Linked DNA regions of Homo sapiens: region 1 is linked to region 2. Evidence: promoter capture Hi-C in 16 types of primary human blood cells and fetal thymus (Javierre and others, 2016). All regions are on one chromosome and are shown on one strand. Each heading gives the region's core, a stretch centred on a gene start or on the middle of the fragment in contact. The rest is flanking DNA. Distances are from core to core; before and after follow the strand shown.

Region 1 (4,775 bases), core at 1,827-4,326, about 51 Mb after region 2:
AGTGCCTTCTATTCCAGACAGGTCTATAACCACCTCGATGATATCTACCTCCTCCTCCTTGATAATACCCTCTACCCCTTCCTCTGTACCCATAAGGTCGTCTCATTCCTCTATTATTTCTGTAATCGCGACGATAATCTCTAGAATACATACGATCTCTACTACGAGACCTTGAATATGTTCTGGAACGAGACCTAGAACTAAAAATGAAATAAATATCAATGCAAGAAAAATAAAGTATTCCATGCTACCATTCTAAATACTCTGGTTGAATATAACATGTAAATAAACAGTAAAGGCAAAAATACACTTTTTTAAAAAACTCATCTGTACAAAAGTTAATGGTTTCCAATCAAAAAGCCTCACTAAGGTAAATACTGAGAGAATACCTTAAAGACCTTACAAATGAAGGCACAAAACACACACACACACACACACACACACACACACGCATGTGTTATATATATCACATGCATTAGGACATATTAGCAAATTGTAGTACCTCTAGGCAAGCACTTAAATTGATGTTGTAAAAGAATATTTAATGGCATGGCATAATATATAGTTAAATGGGGGAAAAGATTACAAAAAACTATCAGTGAGATACTATTAATTAAATACATACATAATATAAAGTTAAGCCTGGTGGGGGAAAAAGAATGAGCATCAACTACTATTAATTCTTAATGGTATTATGGTCATTTGTATTTTCAACTTCTGGTTTCTGTTTTCTATGCTAAGTATGTATTACTATTTTAACAAAAATAACCAGAGTTGTTAATTTTTTTAACAAAAAAAATTATTTTGTTAGAATTCAAAGATTCACAGTCAGAAATGAGAAACTATAAAACAATATGCAGAGATTGTTTACTGTCAAATTCTTGCATTACCCAATTCATCTCTTAACATTGTGGACAAATACAAAGAAACCTACCATACATTATACAGTAAAATTTGAGACCTGGAGTCAGACTAACTGGATTTCAATCCAAGCTCTGCCATTTACTAGAGCTTGTTACCTGGACATTCTCATTTTCTCGCTTACAATAAGGATAACAATAGATCCATTTCACAGGGTTCTTTGAGAATAAAATACATTTTGGGGTTTAGCACTGTGTTTACGATACTCATTCAACAAGTATTAACTGATATAATTATTTTAAAAATTTAAAGCACATTAAATCACCTGTATCGCTTCTTTCTAGAATGAGATCTTGATCTTGATCGAGAACTAGACTGTGATCTAGACTTTGACCTTGAAGAATGTGATCTAGAATTGGAGCGACCCATTTCTTTTCTCCTAATCAAATGATAGGGCAAAAAAAGGTTAAAATTACAATATGATATTTAAAATTTTACATTATTACTTATTTTCAGATAAAATTTGATTTTTACAAGTTTCTCAAAGGCTATTATTCACCATCCTTTTCAAATCAGTATTCAGAAGACAAGTCAATTATCCCTGACTAAAACTGTTTTCACCTGCATGACAGGTACTGTCGATTAAAGACACAACTGAAGATTTTTACGGACTGCCCCACTTATGAGCCTCAATCCTAAAAGGCAGCAGCTGCAGAAGCCAGAAAAAGCAATGAGACTGCAGCAGCATGTTATGTGTTATTCCACGCCCAATACAAATGCCTACCCCTCCTGTAAGAAAGATAAATAATAAAGGTACTACAGATAAGGCAACTGAAATAAAATAAAGTGTCACAATACTAACAAAAAATAAACCTACCAGGCTGTTATCATAGTGCTTTATGGCCTTGAAAATGAGACTGAACTGACCACTCCATATACACAATCCTGTCTGGAGTGGTACTAGATAGTATCCTAGAACAATACAGGACACTAAGTTTCTAAACAGCTGGAGCCATGGCTCTGCTCTCAGTACTCATGACTCCAGAATAAAGTGGACTTATGTGACAATGCCTAGTTCACCCTGAAGCTTTCTGTTAAGAAGATTTAAAAAGAATAAAAGATAAAGAATTGGAGGGATTACTTCAAGAAAGATTTATTAGAACTACAAGAAAAAAAAAACTTGGGCACCAGTAGTTTAACTTTTCTAAACACTACATGGTATCCAATGCTATAATTAGACCTCATTGGGTACAGAAATCAGTAACTGTCAAAACTAATTGATTTATAAGATCTACTAATTGAAAAAACATACACATATAGCAAATCACTGCATGCATATCCCAAATGTCACATTTTCAACTTTTCAATGATTAGATTATATCTTAGCCTCTCAAGCTTGTTTTTGCTGCATAGAACTATTTCCAAATTTACACTAACTTACTCAAAAAGTATTCATTTCAATAAAAATCAACTTACTAAACTTCTAACACCTTGCAATTCCCATAATACTTAAATAGTATCTCCTACAACCAAGTATTTTTGAAGGCACTTTTTTACCTACCTAGACTTTGTTCGGTATAATAAAATAGTATTTGGAGGTACTAAGATGAGTTCAGTTATAGAAGAAGTAATGGTAATACTTGGATAGTTCCTCATCAAGCAATATAAATAACAAATTCAAGATGTTTGAGATAAATGCTTATTTCAAAATAAAACATAACTATCCTCTAATAGACTACCACCTTTGTCTTCTCTCACTCTTCTTCTCAATCCCAAGTAAGCAAGAAATACATAAAGACAGAAACAAAACATAGGTTCAGGGTTCAAAAAGGCAAAGTAAGAATTCCACAACACATAAGAAATAAATTTAGCATTAACATAAGGAGATCTGACACCTTGTAGAACACAAATTTGGTTTAGCAACTGTAGTTTTGACAACATAATGAAATTGGCAAAAACCACATTTACAGCCTGTAAAGGAAGGAATCTTGGCCACGGGGAACTGTGACATTCTCTTGCATCTGATTTCAAAATTCTGTCCCTCCCAAAGTTTTTAAAAGAATATAAATACGTAATTTACATTCATTCTGATCGAATTTACTTCAAGATATTTATTTTTATCCCACTCTGAGATAATCAGACACACTATAAAAAGAAACCAGAGCTGCAAATGATTTTGGAGATCCAGTCCAGCAATAAGACAACATCCTTTTTCATTGTACTAATCAGTAAATAAAACACTATTTTACTAAGAGCTACAGATGCTGTGTTGTGCTGTATCTCCAGAATCTCTGTTCTTTGCTCTTGAGGCTTTTTGGATGGTAATTTCTGTTAAAGGATTCAGGAATTCTGTAGGCTTTTTCAGTCACCAGGATGTAGCTGGGCTTGTGGCACACGAGCACAACAGGTATTTAATAAATAACTATAAAATGAATGCATTCCCCAGAACCTGGACATTTTTTAAAGCAGCAAGTTCATTTTTAAAGGTTTGCGTTTTGCTTTAAGCTACACCTGAAACTTCAAAAACTAACGGAAAGAAAGCATGCCTATCAAATAGTTAGCAGTCCAAAAGAAATGGATTGATATCTTCTGCTCTACTGCAAAAACAGGGAAAAAGCTAAGAACATGGTCTCTGCATTTAAACTACATGAATTCAAATTCCTTAAGCTCTCTGAGCCTGTTCCTCAACTGTAAAACGAAGAAAATAACAGTACCTACTTCACAGACTTGTAGTGGACTTAATGAGTTGATGAACTTAATTCACTTAATACATCTAACACATTAGCAATCAATTTGAATTACCTAAACACTACAGTAGAGAGAAACAAGTTATGAATCTCCTCTTGTTTACATTAGGGAAATGGGTTAAGTAGCAGTCTTTCTATCTTGTATGTCCTGAGTCTTTTAGTAGATGTGTTTATAGAAATAGAAAAAGCAGGAGCACAACCTGGAAGAAGACAGAAAAAGAACCTTTTTCCTAAAACTAACTTAACATCTGACTTACTTCATACAAGCCACCAAAATAAACAAAAAACAAAGCTTCGGACCACATCATTTTTAATCACTCCATCTGAATCATCAATTCAGTAGTGACATTTCCTCAAAAAAGTCAAAAGTGAAAACTAGAAAAATGAATGCTCTTTTACCTTGGTTTTATGCAGGATCAAGAAGTCAAGTGAAGTCTTTGAGATACTGTAAAAATTCTTCCTGGAGAGAATGCTCTGAGAAATTAAACTCTAAATTCGAATTCCTAGCAAAGACAAAAAAACCATTATTGTGATTTATGTTAAATTAAATAACCATTATTTACAATGCATATAATGGGCACTGCCATAAACTCTAATAAACGCACTTACAATTTCAGGGAAGGAAAAACTAATTCAGGAAATAGGAAACTTTTAACCGTAAAAGCTTAAAATTCAACTTTTTTGTAAACCACAATGCAGTAGCGTATCATGAAACTGACAGCATCTTTTTAACTACTTGAATTCTAATTTTAGTAATTTGAGCCTTAAAAAACATATGATATGTCGTTCCATCAGAAAATTCCAACGTAGCTAACATAATGCCATCTTGGTAGCGGGGCAAGGTAGCACAAGCCTGTAGTCCCAGCTACTTGGGAGGCTGATGCAGAAGGATCACTTGAGCCCAGGAGTTTGACACTGCAATGCACTGTGATCACACCTGTGACTAGCCTTGGCAACACACTCTAGCCTTGGCAACACAGCACGACCCCATCTCAAAAAAAAAAAAAAAAAAAAAAAAAAGGTAATCTGTAGTTAATTTTCATAATGCTCTACTTTATAACATCTAAAATATGAGTTTAATGCTCTGCTACTTATTCTCTTTTGGTACTTCCTTTCACACAATTTAGTTTCATGTGAAACTGATTTTTAAATCCACGTTAACAGCCA
Region 2 (4,687 bases), core at 257-2,756:
TGCAGAAGTAGTATCCATGGGCTCTTCAGTACCATTTCCATTAACATGTTCTGTAGCCATGTTTCCAGAGATCTGTTCAAACGCAATAAGCAAAATTAAACTAGGATCTTCAAAAAGAATACAAGACAATATGAGAGCCCCATCTTTACTTTCTCTACCATTTACTACACCAGCTAGCCTATACCTCCCTTTAAAAAAGCCTTACAGTCACTATCGCCTGACAAGCCAGATTTGGAGCACAGGGCACAGAAGGACCGATTCACCATATTCTTCCTCAGCACCACCCCTGACTCACCTGCTAACACTCCCTAGGAAAAACCATATTACAAATAGAGCCCAATCAGCACGGGTACGAGCCAGCGTGCCACATGCAGCTGTGCCCGTTCGGAAAATGAGGTGTGTGTGGAGAAAGCAAAACTGGGCTCCTCTCTCTCAAAGATAAACCCCCAAAGTGCGCGCTTTTCCCGCCTGCCGCTTATAGATCGGTAACAACAGCCAGCGAAGAACAAAGCGCTCATACAAGCCACCTTCCCACCACCCAATTTCTCCACCCTTTAACCCCGCACCCCAAAGCCCGCCCCTGACTCCGCACCCAGAGCGGCAGTCTCACCACTGCGGCCGCCAGGAGCCCATTAGAAACACGTGCTCTGCGCCTTCCAATGTCCTACAACTTCCTTCAACGGCAACCCAACGAATCCCAAACCAAGACGACCATCACTGGTTCCCAACATCAACCCGAAGCCGCGGTCGGAGCCCCCAGAAAGCTGCAGCAGCACAATCTCTCCCCTGAACACCGAGGCACCGGCGGCGCCAGGCCACAGGCTCTCCCCGCCCCCCAGCGCCGCCGTCTCCGCCGTGACACATGGCTCTCCGCCCCTGGCGCTCCCCGGGCGCCGACGACCCCCGGCCGCCCGCCCGGCCGAGACGTGACCCGTGGCGCGCTGTGCAGGTCCCCACCCCTTACCCTTCCGTGCAGTGACTGCGACGCCTGCCCGGCAACCCAGCAGCGTGAGGGCGTTCAGCGGACGGCTCAACGCCCGCGGGACCGTGAGCACCGCCCAAGCTCGCCGCACGGCTGCAGGACAAGACCCACTCCTCTCCGCCCACTCCCGCGCCGCGGCGACCGCCACGACAGCACCAACTCTGAAGCCGCTCGCGGTCCGTGCGGGCCACGGGACCGTGGAGGCGCCTCCTCCCAAAGCGCCGCAGACAAAGCCCGAACCGCAGCAGCACATGGAAAGGAGGAAGTGGCGGCGCGGGCCGCGGCCTACTCCCAGGCAGCCCCAGTCAACGTGCTCTTCTCCCCATTGGAATCCATTTTCCAGAAAAGCCGGTTTCTACCCGCGCCACCCTCCCCCAGCTCACTCCACAATGTCATGGAGCTCCCCTCCCACACCCAGGTTCTGGCAGTCGTTACCTCCCCGTTGGGCTGAGGCGGAGAAATCCTGTCCGATGGTATCGGGTTGCGGGAAACGCGTGCTCGCTGCTCCCTGTGTCCGGCGCGAGTGGAGCTGTTGTAAAATGGCGGCCGAAGCTCACGCCGCTGGCAGCAAACCCGATCCAGTTCCACTCGCCTCCGAGCGCGCTCCCGGTGCGCGCGCGCGCCCCCGCGTGACCCCCCCTTCCCTTCCCTTCCCTTCCCTCCCCTCCCTCGCGCGTCCGCTTCACTCACTCCCTCAGCCCCTGCCCTCCTCCAGCTCCTCCTTCTCCCCCTACCACCACCACCACCACTAGCCTCTGTCCGCCTTCTCTCGGCCTTTCTTATTCCCGCCCCCCGCTCCTTTACCCCACTGCTCCCACTCCCCTCTGCGGTCGCTCAGGCACGAGTGGCCGCCTTTCCCCTTCTGGCTCGCACGCTCCCTCACTCCCTCCCTCGCTCGCTCGCACTCTCGGCCCGGTCCCCCAGTCCCTGCCGAGTCGGCTCCTCTCTTTCTCTCTCCCGCGCTGACGTGACAACGTAGCCTACGCCTCGGGACGCGCGCCCGCGGGCTCCGCCCCCACGCCGCGCCGCCTTCCCCGCTCCTCACCCCTTGGGTTGGGGGTGGGGGAGGCACAAGACCCCGCCCTTCCGCTCCGACGGTGGCGGCCGAGGGGCCGAGACTGAATGAAAGGCCCGCCCCTTCCCCTCCCGACACTCCCCCTCCCTCTCCCCTCCAGGCGGGGCGGGCCGGCTCAGCGTGTCCCACTCGTTTTCCTTTGTCAGGAGACTGGCATCTCCCCACCCCGCCCCACCCCACCCCCTCCCCGCGACACCATGCGCACGCCACCCCCACCGAGCTCCCGCCCGCCCCATCCCTGCCCGGTCCGGGGCTGGCGGGGCAGAGTGCTGTGGGCGCTGAGTGCGACTGCCGCTTCCCGGAGGGCACCCACCGGTCTGTGCGCGCCCGGCCCCCGCCCCCGGCTCCGCGGCCGCGTAGCCGTTCCAGGCGGTGTCCACGCCGCTGCCACCGCCCCGCGCTCTCCTCCTCGGGAAGCTGCAGGCGCACGTGTCCCCCGGGGCGGGGCGAGGCAGACAATGGGGCCAAGGGGGAGGGGAGCGGCGCGGAGACCCGCGGACCTTTGGTCCGCCGGACTGGCGGTACTCGAGTGCGAGAGTCGCCCTTGGAGACTCGATCTCCCCAACTGGACAGTGGGCCCTCCTCGCAGCCGCGCGGCTCCGCTTTCACGGGAACCTTCGGCGAAGGGAGGGGCGCCCCAGGCTTGGACGCGGAAACCCCGGCTGCTTTTGAAGGGGGAACGGGGCTGGCTCCAGTGGAGCGAGGAGCGGCTCCTGCCTTGGGATGACACGAAGGCCAGATTTGGAAGCGAAACCGCCCGGTGGTGAAGGGTTGTGCAATACTCCGTTTCAGTCCCTGGCCTTTTAAGCAGTTAAGGGCTTCCTCCTGGCACAGTTTGAGCAACTTGAAACAGCACAAAGCTGCGTGGTTAGAACAACTTTGAGAAAAATGTCTGTGTTTCTTTTAAAAAAAACCTTGGCAACTAAATCTTCTGTGAAATGACGTTTCCTTTATAATCGTTTACTAGGTACAAGAAAGACAAGACAAAGGCATTTGAATTACAGACGCGATATGGATACTAATTTTATCCAGGGCAGCTGTAATGAAAAATAGAAACAATGTCCTTTTGATTAAAAAGCTTATTTTTAAGAGCTTACTGGTTCCCCAGATGAGCTCTGTGCTATGATAACAAATCAGTGGTTTGAGGAAAAGTTAGATAAACACTCTTCAAAGTGCACAAGCACATAAAATGCTAGATTATTTTCATAGCTACTTGGATCAGATATGAAGTATGTTTTAGCCAAAGCACCACATAGCCAACCTGTTTAGTAAGGATTTGAGATCTCCACCACCCCAGATTCCTTACTATCAAACATATGTGATATTCAGCTGCTTCAGCCATAGGGATTTTTGTTCACAATGCAGAGGTCGTGGTTAATGATATACATGAAAAACAAAATGTTTAATAGAAAACTATGAAAATAAGAGTCATACCATGGATTAAACAAGAATAAAAATTGGCCGGGCGCGGTGGCTCACGCCTGTAATCCCAGCACTTTGGAAGGCCGAGGCGGGCGGATCACAAGGTCAGGAGATCGAGACCATCCTGGCTAACACGGTGAAACCCCGTCTCTACTAAAAATACAAAAAAATTAGCCAGGCGTGGTGGCGGGCGCCTGTAGTCCCAGCTACCCTGGAGGCTGAGGCAGGAGAATGGCGTTAACCCGGGAGGCGGAGCTTGCAGTGAGCGGAGATCGCGCCACTGCACTCCAGCCAGGACGACAGAGCGAGACTCCGTCTCAAAAAAAAAAAGAATAAAAATGAGTCTGAAACATGTAACACTTTGTTTAGACCTTCCTGGGTATTAAAAAAAATTTTTTAAAGTGCCTTAACCTGGGCAAAGCTCCCAAATTAAAATCTCTAGCTGTTCTCTGACATCTAATTCCTTTCTCTAGCCACGCCCTCAATGTTTATGTGGGCTTTCTGGCACTCCAGATGGGCATTTCAAGAAACTGAGCACGTGATCTTCCCCCAGTCTTCCGTCTACAGAGTTCCCATCTCAATTAACATCCCCCACATGAATTGCTGGAGCGGATCATTCAAGGCACTTCCTTCTCTACACTGCCATATCAGTTAATCAAGTCCTATCAATTCTGTCTCCCAAATATATCTCCATTTATCTCTATGTTGCAACCACCCAGGCAAAGCCACCATCATCTACCACCTGTACTAATGGCATAGCCTCCTGATTCATCCACTCTTACAGCTGTCCTAATCTGTTCAAAGCCCAAGTCATCTGTCTTTCTGTATGACTCTCTGTCTCCTGTGTAGGCTCTCTCCCTCCCTTGACCTTCTCTATCTTAATTGCAAGTAAGATCCTATGGCGTGTCTGCTTAAAACCCTTCATTAGCTTCCAATTACACTTAGAACAACAGCCAAAATCCTTAACTAGATCAACAAAGCTCTCTAAGATCTGTCCCACCTGTCTCCCCAGCTCATCTCAGCCACTTTATGGCTTCAGCCTGGCCTTCCCTTGATTCTGGCATTTCTTTTTATTTGAGACGGAGTCTCGCACTGTCGCCCGGGCTGGAATGCAGTACGTGATCTCGGCTCACTGCAACCTCCGCCTCCCAGGTTCAAGTGATTCTCCTTGCCTCAGCCTCCCAAATACCTGGGATTACAGGCGCCCG

Evidence for each region. The method cuts DNA at HindIII sites, captures the fragments that hold promoters and counts their contacts. A CHiCAGO score of 5 or more calls a contact.
Region 1: a fragment that was not itself captured here is called in contact with the fragment with the promoter of SYNCRIP in region 2 in 1 of 17 cell types (total CD4 T cells); the score reaches 5.1 in total CD4 T cells.

The regions. Positions count from the first base shown.
Region 1 is chr6:136,278,577-136,283,351 of GRCh38, forward strand. It overlaps BCLAF1 (BCL2 associated transcription factor 1), which reads right to left. Exons shown (of 13, transcript NM_014739.3): 2 at 4,008-4,111; 3 at 1,187-1,300; 4 at 1-200. The coding sequence starts at 1,290. Among named protein-coding and RNA genes, the nearest start is that of BCLAF1, 8.9 kb to the right of the region's middle. The HindIII fragment of the contact is 1,644 bases long and covers 2,255-3,898 here.
Region 2 is chr6:85,641,380-85,646,066 of GRCh38, forward strand. SYNCRIP (synaptotagmin binding cytoplasmic RNA interacting protein) reads right to left here and starts at 1,507. Exons shown (of 11, transcript NM_006372.5): 1 at 1,418-1,507; 2 at 1-72. The coding sequence starts at 60. RefSeq lists silencers at 557-606, 827-976, 1,567-2,586. The HindIII fragment of the contact is 3,992 bases long and covers 1-3,133 here.